Regions from separate parts of the Homo sapiens genome. Here region 2 is linked to region 1. Evidence: promoter capture Hi-C in human tissues and cell types (Jung and others, 2019). All regions are on one chromosome and are shown on one strand. Each heading gives the region's core, a stretch centred on a gene start or on the middle of the fragment in contact. The rest is flanking DNA. Distances are from core to core; before and after follow the strand shown.

Evidence for each region. The method cuts DNA at HindIII sites, captures the fragments that hold promoters and counts their contacts. A contact is called where the count stands out against the background at its distance.
Region 2: a contact is called between a fragment that was not itself captured here and the fragment with the promoter of MGST1 in region 1, in 1 of the 25 tissues and cell types used here (hippocampus).

What each region holds. Positions count from the first base shown.
Region 1 is chr12:16,343,764-16,349,579 of GRCh38, reverse strand. MGST1 (microsomal glutathione S-transferase 1) reads right to left here and starts at 1,935. Exons shown (of 4, transcript NM_020300.5): 1 at 1,870-1,935. RefSeq lists enhancers at 56-985, 1,916-2,845. The HindIII fragment of the contact is 4,760 bases long and covers 1-3,283 here.
Region 2 is chr12:16,595,952-16,602,161 of GRCh38, reverse strand. It overlaps LMO3 (LIM domain only 3), which reads left to right. Exons shown (of 4, transcript NM_018640.5): 2 at 1,294-1,507. The coding sequence starts at 1,302. Among named protein-coding and RNA genes, the nearest start is that of LMO3, 7.1 kb to the left of the region's middle. The HindIII fragment of the contact is 6,195 bases long and covers 167-6,210 here.

The DNA of each region.
Region 1 (5,816 bases), core at 686-3,185:
ACCTTTAGTATGTAAGGAAATTAAGGCCCAGAAAAGTAGTGAGTAATATGACCCAAATTCACAGTGGAGAGACCAAGACTGCAACTTAGTTTTCTCAAGTGTTTACCTCTGGGCTACCCACCATCAAGGCTAAGAATTCTCAACAGCTCTGGTCTTCTGGAGGCCTTTCCTTGTCAAATCTCATTCCTGTTTTCTACCCCTCCCCCCAAACCCCCGTACTATCTAGCAGAGAAGAATCTTCACTTCTCAGTTGAGGAACGCCCTTTCCCTTTACAGGCTTTTGGCCAAAATGAGCAAAGTTCTCTTCTCAGGATGAGGTGGCCAGCCTTTCTGCATCAATATTGTGAAACACATGAATAATCTGGGCACGCATCCCCAGGGCCATGACTCTGCAATTTTGTACCTTCTAAAACTAACAAACACTACACATGAGATAAAGAAAAAAGATAATTCGGTGGCCATGTTGCGGATACGTTAATCTGGAACTCTAGATGAATTCTAGCATTTCCTGAAGGCATCGTGGTGGCTGCAGACTCAGCCCACTATGTGGTCTCATGCAAAGTGGGGTTCAGAGCCCAGAGGCTGCAGGTGAAATGCTGGTGCCTCTCGGGAGAGTGGTGGGGTAAGGCCTTTCTCTGTGCTGACCTGACCTCCTTTTCCAATCTCAGGGATTCATAGACACCACTCTAAAACAAAGCGGTAGAAAAATTTTACTCGTCTGCCAGAGAGGGTAATATCCAAATTTGGACTGATTTGCCTTTTTTTTTTTTTTTTTTTTAATTACCAAAGATAATCGCACACATAGCCCTCTTATTTTGGAAACAGCAGAGGACAACAAAGTCCAGTACTATCCTAAGGCCAAGAAAAGCATATGCAAAAGGTAGGTGTAGGCTGGGACTCACAGCAGGCTGGGACCCCAGGAAAACTGGGCTTTAAGGATTGCTCACTGGAGGCCTGGGTGCTATACAGCAATGCTTGCGGGCACCCACTCAGCACTCACTGGGTAAGAAATTAGGGAGAAGAAATAGGGGAATATAAACGTGGAGCTCAGACTGCCACATTTCAAGAGAAGCAGAGAGACTAGAAGATTTACATGCACTCCTCTCTCCTCTGTCCCAAGCCAGCTAGAGCAATATATGACACCTTAATTCCCGAAAAAGAGAGTTCCCTTCTCCTTTTCTCCTTCCACATGGCTTCCTCCTCCAGACTGGGGAAGTGGGGCACAGGTGAGAACCGTCCCAAGGGGCTCACCCTTAGCTCTCTTGTCACTGGCTATAATATCACACAAAAATATTATCATCTAACCCACATCCTCTTGTTTCGATAGCTAGCATTATTAGCAGTAGTATTATTTAGTATTATTTTAAAACTTGCTGATGTTTCTCCTATCAAAGTGAACTCAGAAGAGCAAATCCTGCCTTACAATAGGCATAAAGGCCACTATGCCCATGAAACCTGAGACATCGCAGGCTTTTGCACTCTTGGGGAGAACAGCAGTCGTTCAAACTACAGGCATTTCCTCCATTACTACACGTGCCTTTTCCTCCTTCCCCAGAGTTCAAGGGACCCTTTCAAACAGGAGGTTACTTTGACTTGAAAAGGCTAAGTTTGGAAATCATCACTCAAGCATGAAAAGACTCTCTCGTTTCATTCCTGGAGTTTGAGAAATGGGAAAACTTACCCGCACGGGGACAGAAATACAATTCCCTTTCAAAAGCGATCGATTGAAAAGCTAAGTTTAGCTGCTAAGTGGAGCCAAGCACTTCCAGCTGGCAGAGACCCCCCCAAGTCTTCCATCTGCCACCCACCCTGGCCCTCCCTGCCTGCCACCCTTTGCATGCGGTCCCCTTCTCCCCTCCCAGTACGCACGGTGAGGCCGAGGAGGAGGAAGCAGCAAGCCTGTCCCGCCGCCGGGTCGCGCGCAATGCAGGGACTGTGGCCGCGCGGGCCGGACGCAGGCACCGCCCCTCTCCAGTTAATCTCCTGTTAATTAGCCCTCCCACGTTTAAAGCCCGACCCCAACCTCGCCAAACCCCTCCTCTAAATCACCTGATTTACCCGCCCACAGTAACCATCGCCTGCTGATTCCCTTTGAGCCCTTCTATTTGGCGCCCTTAGAAACTCTGGTTCCTGAAATGCCAACTCCCCTAATCAGTGGGAAGGGGGACAGTAGCCATTGTCTAGGAACTCTGAATTCTCGAACATTTCAGGATCAGCAGAGTTTTGGAAGTTGTTTTTAAAAACTTCGCAGAAAGTTAAAATCTCCAGGGTAGAACTAATTAGCAGGCATTGACAATATTACCTTCCCTTAGACTTCACCTCCCCTGCGCTGGTGGCAAGGCCTCCTTAAAAGGCTGACAATGACAGAATGTAACCCTCAGTAAAGATCACTTACGGTGTTCCAAATTCATGATACCAGACAATTTGCTTTGTCACGATGTCCCCTCCTGTTCAGGGTCCAGAATGAAATTGGAGGCAATTGTACTGGATCAGCTCATTACACAATCAGCTTAGTGTGTTTTTTACAGGGAGGTTTAGAGGAACGTTTACGGAAGCCGTAGATATTTAGCCTACCATCACTATCTAGATTAGGGATACTTCCAAGCTTCCTAGTCCCCATAGTCCCCACAATATTTATGGATCTATCTTTCATGGGTTTATATGAGAAATGTTTAAGGATTTCTGTTTTCAATCTATATTATTTCTCTCCTAGTGCTATATCTCAGACACTCACCACCTGTTGCAAGGTCTACTTCCTTTTTTTGCTCTTAATTTACTCCTTTAGGCTTTAAAGGATATCCCTAGGACTAACTTTCTAGGATGTGATGGACAAGTTCATGTTCTATTAAAGAAAGAAATAACTACCAGTTTGCTCTAGGAACAGAAATTAATCCAAGGAAGGTCTGAGAATGATTTCTATATAAGCATAACAGTAGGAGTTTTGGAAAATCTAGCATCAGAAGGCATCTGTTCTTCACTTTTATGTCTGTATCTTTTCAAAACTCTACTTATTCACCTATCTTTGTAAAGTATACTAGAATCTGTCTGTAACATTAACTGGAATAGGATAGAATTTGAGATGACATAAATCTATTCTGAATTCTCTCCAAAGGAGTTTGGTATTATAAGAATTTAAGACTCTCTTCATTTATTATAAGGTGATACAGGCCAAATCTTATGGATAACATGGCAGAAAAAGGAAGAGGAGAGCTACTGTTTAGATAATTTGGTCTACAGAATGCTAGTTGAATGGTTCTAACATTTTTTTTTTTTTTTTTTTGAGACGGAGTCTGCCTGTGTAGCCCAGGCTGGAGTGCAGTGGCGCGATCTCAGCTCACTGCAAGCTCCGCCTCCCGAGTTCACACCGTTATCCTGCCTCAGCATCCCAAGTAGCTGGGATCACAGGCACCTGCCATCACGCCTGGCTAATTTTTTGTATTTTTAGTAGAGACGGGGTTTCTCTGTGTTAGCCAGGATGGTCTTGATCTCCTGACCTCGTGATCCACCTGCCTCAGCCTCCCAAAGTGTTGGGATTACAGGCGTGAGCCACTGCGTCCAGCTGGTTCTAACATTTTTTTAAAAAAGAAAGTAGCACTTGACTCATCTAATGCTCTAAATATAGAATGTGTTCAAACTATTAATTGATCAATGAATAAATACTGAGTTCCTACTATCACTAAATCACGAACAATTATTGCCTGTTACATACATATATATATGTGTGTGTGTGTTTGTGTGTATCAGGCAATATTATATATATACATACGGATATATATATGACACTGTATTGGGTAGAATATTAGCAGTTGGTTTAATTGAATAAACATTTATTAAATGAATGCAATGTACTTGGTTTGATGCTAAAATCTAAAACTAAGATAAATAACGTCAAAGAGCTGTCCTCCAGGATTTTACAATCTAGTAAACACAAAGGCCAAAAAGGTAAAAAGTTGCCATTAAGCTTGTGGAAGGAAAGTTTCCATTTAGAAATAAGAATGACAGTTGGGGTGTGAACTAGGGCGGTAACAGGTAAAAGTTGTAAAATAATTGACACTTTATATTCATCTTTGTTATAAGCTCTTAAATGATTGAGAAAGAGAGAGAGTTGTTATTCAGCTTAGTTTCGTCTGGGTAAAAGAATGGATTCAGCTTTTCAACCCTTCCTCTCACCACCATTTAAATTCTAGAATACCATCTTTTAGAGAAACTCAATCCAAGCCTCAGAACAAGTAATTCCCTAGTAAATATTAAAACAGTTTAAAAGGTCATTGATTTGGGGTGAGGAGAGCAAAGGTCATTCATCTGAAAAAGGAATTACCACAATAAAGAAAAAAAAAGCAGACTGTTCAGGGGATCAAATTAGAAATATCTGGAAGAGCAAAGCATTGGAAGTCCAGTAATACCTTTGTCTGTTTTTAAAACAGACAAAGTAAAAATGGCAGAAAGAATTGCCATCACCTTCTGTTAAGGCTTGCTGTAAATAGGAAGAAAACAGGTGCCTGTCACTCCCCTCAATTATATTGGGGCCTTTGTTTTTCCCTAAATCCACAGAACAGGTGCCCTGCCACAATCTGAAACTTACTGGGGGATTTCAGTAAACTTGCATAAGAATATGTTTTAAGGTCAAGAGAGCAAAAAGTGAAACAAAAATAAGCAATATTCTGAACACTTAAGGATTATTTTAGAGTTATAATACATTTTAAACATGTATACTAGATTGTTTATTTCTCCCAATAACCCTATAAGGGAGTTCTTATTTTTCCTATTTTTTAGACAGACACTCTGAGATACACAGCAGCCTGAAAGCTGTGCTAACTTCTGAAATAAACTCTTAAGCTAATATTGTCAAGAGGCAAAAGTAGCCACGATGAAAGGAACAGAACTAAAAAATGATAAAAATTCTTGAAGCTAATCAAGAGAGTATAGTAAGGGTATAAGGATAGACAAATAGGTCAAAAGAATAGAATAGAATCCAGAAATAGAACTATATTTAATTGATCAATTGATTTTCAACAAGGTGCCAAGACAATTCACTGAAGAAAGGAAAGCTTTCAACAAAAGGGGCTGGAACCACTGAATAGCCACATGGTAAAAAAATTGAACTTTGACCCTTAACTGACATCATACACAAAAATTCAAGCTGAATCACAGACCTCAAGGCTAATACTATAAAGCCTCTGGAAGAAAACCTCGATTATCTTCATGACCTTGGGGTCGGTAAAGACGTTTTAGGCAGGAAACAAAAAATTATCTATAAAACAAAAAAAAACTGATAAATTGAACTTCATCAAAAGACATTATTAAGAAAATAAATAGGAAAGCCAGAGACTGAGAGAAAATATTCCCAATACCATGTATCTGACAAAGAACTTGTATGCAAAAGAACACCTATGACAATAATTGAGACAAAAGTAGAAAATTAAAAATTGAAAATATTCAAAATATTTCAACACTCACAAAAGAAGATATATGAATGACTAAGAAGCACATGAAAAGGTATTCAATGTCATTAGTCTTCACAGATAGGCAAATCAAAACCACAACGATTTGCTTCTTCCCAAAAATTGAAAAGGCAAGAATTAAAGACAAACAAAATCAAACATTGGCAAAGCTGTGGAGCAAATGAAACCATCATACATTGCCAGTGAGGGTATAAAATGGAATCAAATAGTAAAACTGTCTCATAGTTTCTTATGAAATAAACATAGAACTGTTTTATAATCCAACAATTCTGCTTCTAAATACAGTATTCACCCAAGAGAAATGAAAGCATATGGCCACCAAAAAGATTGTTCAAGAATGATTTTAATAGCTTT
Region 2 (6,210 bases), core at 2,015-4,514, 250 kb before region 1:
ATGCAAGTTTAAAACTTTATGCCTAGGAGAGCAAACATAATGCAGCAGAAGGGTCTCTGGACTGTAAGAAGGCCATTTGGCTGGAGTCTATAGCGTAACTGTCTTTCAGCTTTGAGCAAGTCTCTGAACCTCTCTTGGGCCTCGGTAACATAATTTGTAAAATGAGGGAATTTGGAATTGATGATGTCTGCAGTACTTTATAGTGCTTAAAATGAGTTATTTGATAAATATGAGGCATTGGATAGTTGGTCCAGCTTCTTGCTAAAGCTGGGTGTTTTAATACCTAGGAAATAAGAAGACACTCAAGGTGAATGTCCATTCATTCAAAAGATTTCAATCAAACTGTAAAGCCCATGGAATCCAGCTGGATTCCTTATTTATGATGGATTTATACCTTTAAAATATATAAATGTTTCTATGTTTAGCATAGTATACATATAACATGTATATATTTACTTATATATGTTTGTATAATTGTATATATATTTAGATCTTGCCTTCTATTGTTTTTTCTTTCCTTTATAAAACAAATAATTGCATGTTTATGGTAATAAATGGTATAATCATATACTTTAGGTTTACATAAAAGCATATAGTATATAGTTAAGTAATCTGCCATTAATATAGGTGCTGACTGATGCTTGTGAGTATAAATGTTATATTTGAACACAATGAATACTTTGAAATATCAAGGACATAGAAGAAGTATTTGGATGCAAGCAAGAAATATAGGATTGGTGAGCTTTTTGGGTAGCTGTTCTGTGTACTTAACTATAAACACCTCTACTGCTGAATAAGGTTAGTGTAACCCCATACCAGGTGCCCTCTCCTTCCACCATCAAGCACATATTAAGTGAAATTTTTAAACAGTTAAGCAAAACTCATTTTTTTACTTGTAGGGACTGTGCATAGATTAATTTGTTAAATAGCTTTCTTTTCAGATTGTTATTTACTCACATTTTCTTTCTAAAGGAACTGCTCTATGGGGAGAATGAAGATACTATAAAATTATTTAATGTTATTGAACTTCATATTTATAATGTCAATTTACCATGGTCAACATGAATTTATTATTATTGTCACTTGGCATGTGTAACTTTTTGAATGATTTAATAAGCACTTGATAAAGTTTGAGACTTTTTGTTTCCAAAATTGGGTTTGATTTCAGTATAGCCCTAAACAAGAAAAGCTAACACTCCTAGAATAAGGAAATATTAAATATTTAACTTGTTTGAGGTCTTTTTATTCTGTCTGGTAGTCTCAGCTCTCTTTTTTGCTTTTGTCTTCCTTTAGGTATACAAATGCTCTCAGTCCAGCCAGACACCAAGCCGAAAGGTTGTGCTGGCTGCAACCGAAAGATCAAGGACCGGTATCTTCTAAAGGCACTGGACAAATACTGGCATGAAGACTGCCTGAAGTGTGCCTGCTGTGACTGTCGCTTGGGAGAGGTGGGCTCCACCCTGTACACTAAAGCTAATCTTATCCTTTGTCGCAGAGACTATCTGAGGTAGGAATTATCCTTGCACACCAGTGATGACTGGATGCCTTTTAAAGTACTTTTGTAAGTGTATTTTTTGTTTGCTTGTTTCATTTCCTTACTGCCAGCTTATATTCCTGAAAGAAGTTACCTGTCAGCCTTCAAAGCGTTGCCCTGTGTGTGTTACTCAAATTAATGCTTAAGGAATAGCCAACAAACCACAATATTTAAAGTATTTCAATTTGGCTTGCCTGCACACTCAGGCAGTTGGTTATGGCGCTGCCTATGTTGAAACTGCCAGTTAATGTCAAGGATGTATTTGGTCGAAATCAGCATTCAGGTTGATTTACTTATTTTTTCTTTTTTTTCTTTTTTTTTTTTTTTTTTTTTTTTGGAGCTTAAGGGGGAATGGGGGTTGAGCATAACACAAAGAAATTGATCAGCCATTTGGCAAAATATCTTAACTATTTTTAAAAAGTTCAACTTGAAAAAAATGGACTGTGTAAAAGAGTTTAATTGTTGCCTCTAAGTTGGACCTGAATTTAGTCTTCTAAAGTTATTCAGCTGTCTTCTCTGTTTCAGGTGTGTCAGAGGAAGTCAGGTGCAAATCCTTGGTTAATATCTATTAGTGCATTTATTGTAGAGTTTTGAAAACTTTCCCCAAGTGTAGATACATCTTCCTCTCGCCCCACCTCATGACATTCTAAACGGGAATCTCAAAAATACAACTAAGCAATTGAACCGCCTCAGACTTGCCAGTAGTTTTATGGATAATAACAAAGTAAAGACCTCCATCATTATAGGAAAATGACAGCCACTCTCCAACCTGTAAACATCTGAATGCTTTCAGGACAAGGCAGGTGTTCTTGGTTATGGAGCTATGAAGCCTACTAAAGCTTGTTTTCCAGCATTAAGTACTCAACACAGAATTTCTGCTGAAGGAAAATTATTTTGCTTTTCAGGCAACTTTGTGACTTACTTCAGCTGCAAATTACTTATATTAATAAAGTAGGATCTATCAAATTAGAGAAATGATATATGGCATCATTGGGATTTTCATATTTAATACAATTTATCATTTTTCTGGTCTGACATTAAGCGATTTATTTGGAATTTTTTCCCTTATGACAAAATTTATCAATCAATGGTAACTCCTTTAGTACCTTGGTCATTTGATGAGGTGTTTTCTAGGGAATTTGGTCGTTCTTAGTATATAATTCAGCTATTTTCAGTCAGATCCAATCTTTAGATATAAAAATATATCATTTGATTAATGGTAGTTACAAGAGGGTGAAAGCGGTACTGTTTATCAGATTCTACTCCTTCTCGCTCTTAGGACGGCCTCATCTGACAGCCTCCTGACTAATTATGGCCACTTGTTACTACTTCTCTGTGTTCCAAGTGCGTAAAACACATGCAAGGTGCCAACAATGAGAAGTCACTCTCTCCAGCCAGGATTTCCCTCATTGTGTTGGCACAACGAATCAAAATTAATGTACAATGTTCATTTTTTTAGAACTCTCCGGTCTTTGAACTTTCCTCTTTGAAATAAAAATTTCTCTTCTGCCCATTGTGAATTAGAGCCTCATTTCCACATAAAGCATTTGTATTTGCTTTTAGTGATTTAATACTGCTTTTTAGTTTTGCTTTATCTGTACTAACCAATAGTCATAGCTTTTTGACTCCTTTTGACTTTTACATTTGTTTGTAATTTCAGTATCTCAAGTGGATTTATGTTACCATTTCAAATAAGGAGTTTATATAGCCCGGGCAATGTTAAGGTGTTTTAATAAACCAAAGGACAAAAATTAAGTAAACTTGAAAGAATGTCAACTGAAATATCTGGGGTTTTTGAAAACAAAAATAAAAATTTGCCAAGGAAATACCTATATTGTGAGTATAACATGCTTCTTAGCTGTCAACATAGCATCGAGCAAAGACAGTAATCTTAGATTTGTTTTGTTTTCTTTTTCCTTGTGGTAGTAAAAATATATTTGATAGTCTCAAGTGTTTTGCTAAAACGCATTTATCAAAAATAGTTTTCATATCAGAAGTTTTTGTATCTCTATAAGAGTGTATGTGGCTTTTTGTAGAATAACTTTCAGTTACCTCCTGATAGGCTCAAACTTTTAATGGTGGTTAACTTATTAAAAGTATATAATATTCTTTCAAATATAAACCCTGGTCCTGATTGCCAATATATTCATTTCTCAGAGTACGATTTCCGCTTAAATTGGTCATTACCACATTAATGGCCAGTTGTTATGTTAACAGCCTAACGGTTGTTAACATTTCAAACTAAGTTGTTAACAGCAATCTTGTCCCTTATTTAAACTGAAAGTTTGTTGTATATAATGTGACTTATTTGGCAACTTCATCAACACTTAAAATTGCAGAAGTGAAGTGGAGAATTGGTGTGTGTAAAACACTGTGTTACGTGTTATAGATTATGCCGCAGATGTGGTATTTAGTTTTATGTGGAAAGCATGTGTCTCAGTGAAATTGTGTAGATGTTCAACTGCATATGTCTCTGATTGGCAAATTAAAATAGTCTGATTCTGTATGGTAAATCAACAAATATAGTCAAGCAGATTTTATTTACAAATTAATTTCTTTGATTAGATACAAATAGTTGTTCAAAAATGTTTATTAAATGCTTACTGTGTGAGAGGTATGATTTCAGGCAATGGGTGAAATTAGCTAAAGGAAAAAGGAAGGTACACCTAAAGTTGCCACTATCTAATTGTTTATTTAATTACATAGAATCTGTAATATAATCAGTGAACAAGTAATATTCTGTGGTTATTTTCCTGAGCTTTAAAAGTAATTTTTCTCATTTTCCTCCAAATTCAGCATACTTCCATTTTGTATTTTATATAACCAATGTTTAATCACTTAAGTTCTATTTTAAAAGTTGTTTTATTTTTGGCCCTTTGATATTATGTAATTTCTCTGAGGCACCAAACTGAACATAAATAACTTACATATTTATATTTCATGTCTAAATTATTAAGAACATAAGTAAGAATAAGGAAAGTAATAAAATAGTAATTTGCCTGTCCACATATATTGTTGGTTACAAGTATTGTCCTGGGCCAGATAATTTTTTACATACAGTGAAAAGTAAAATATTTTTGCCAATTACATTTAGCTTCTTAATACACTTCTCCCTCCATAAACAGAAAGAAAGAAACACTCCTAATTATGAGCAATGAGACTTAAAGATCTGTGTTTTACTTGTGTTACTTTGAGTAGTGATAATGATGATGTGATTTATAAGTTCTTTGAATGATGATTTGAGATATTAAATAATATGAAAATATAATAATTTAGACTGTAAGATATTTTCTTAAGGGTTATAGAAACTATTATTATGGAAAATTTGATGTCTTTCCATTTTTTTTCTCCTTTATGGCACTAGTAGCTATATTTAAGAGAAAAAGAAAGAAAAATCTTCCATAGTTTGTACACTAAGTATCAAATCTTAACAGTGGAATTTTTCACTTTCCAGAACTGGACTGGCATATCATTCATTTAGCTGTGGAACATAAAATGTACATATCTGATGAGACAGAATTTGCCCATTTGTGGGATTGCTTTCCTCCTTTGGAAACTCATTAGCTAAAGAAAGAGAAGGACTGACTTTTTAAAACTTCCTCTAACATGTTTCTGACTGAAATTATGAAATCTACCCAGTCAATATTTATATGCCAGGCAGACCAAGAAATGTATCTGTTAAAAATCTATCCAATGCATTTATAATTATTTTTATTTTTTTGAAGAGTAACTTATGACAAATTAGATATAGAAACATCTTTGTACTTTAAGTTGGAGCTTAAAATTGATATTGTCTAAAGTAGATTAAAAATGACTGTGTAAAAATAGCAAAGTTGTAGTGATAATGTTTAAGGTACTCATCACTGCGATCTATCCGCCTTATTTCAGTTTGAAAAAATATGAATAAAGTAGCCAGCCAGTGCATAATCAGAGTCTTAGAATTAGGAATTCTACATGCTTTTATTTAATGTTTTGCAGCAAGCATTAAATAGAACTAGGAGAAATACCAAAATACTTTCTTTTTCAACTTGAAGGCAATAAAGGATGTCAGAATGTAACTGGAACTCAACTTCTGGGCAATTTTTTTGTTGTTCTTTCTTTGAACCTGCAACTTTTTGTGACGTACTTTAAGCATTAAGTCTATATAGGCTGTATGTATCTTGTATCTCTATGAATGATATCTTGCCAGAGTTTATTCAAAGCTGTTTGCTGTGGTATGTGCCATGGAAGCTGCTTATAGCTTTTCCTATATAAGAAGCTGTAAAATGTCTTATATAAAATTTAATGCAATTTGCTATTTTTATACGTGAGGATGATTTGTTTAAAATGAAACTACTGGGAAAGAGTGATGCTTCATGCTTCACCATAGTTGCTAATTAACTAAAATGATTTGAAGCTTGCTATGCTGACTACAAATTTTATAGGCTTTAATATAATAATATAATAACTCTAAAAGAGAAAATAAAAATAAATTGCCACATAGGGCATAAATCTAGCTGTAACTTTATCTCACGCTGATCAAACCTGGTGCTTCTAAATTTTTATGTAAGGTCAGCTTTATATTGGTACATAATTATAAGTGTAAAGGTAAATAGGAATATGTTGTTAATATTATTTTATCTGGCAATTTATAGCACAGATGCTTTTTTAATGTTGATACAATATTCATTCTTTTT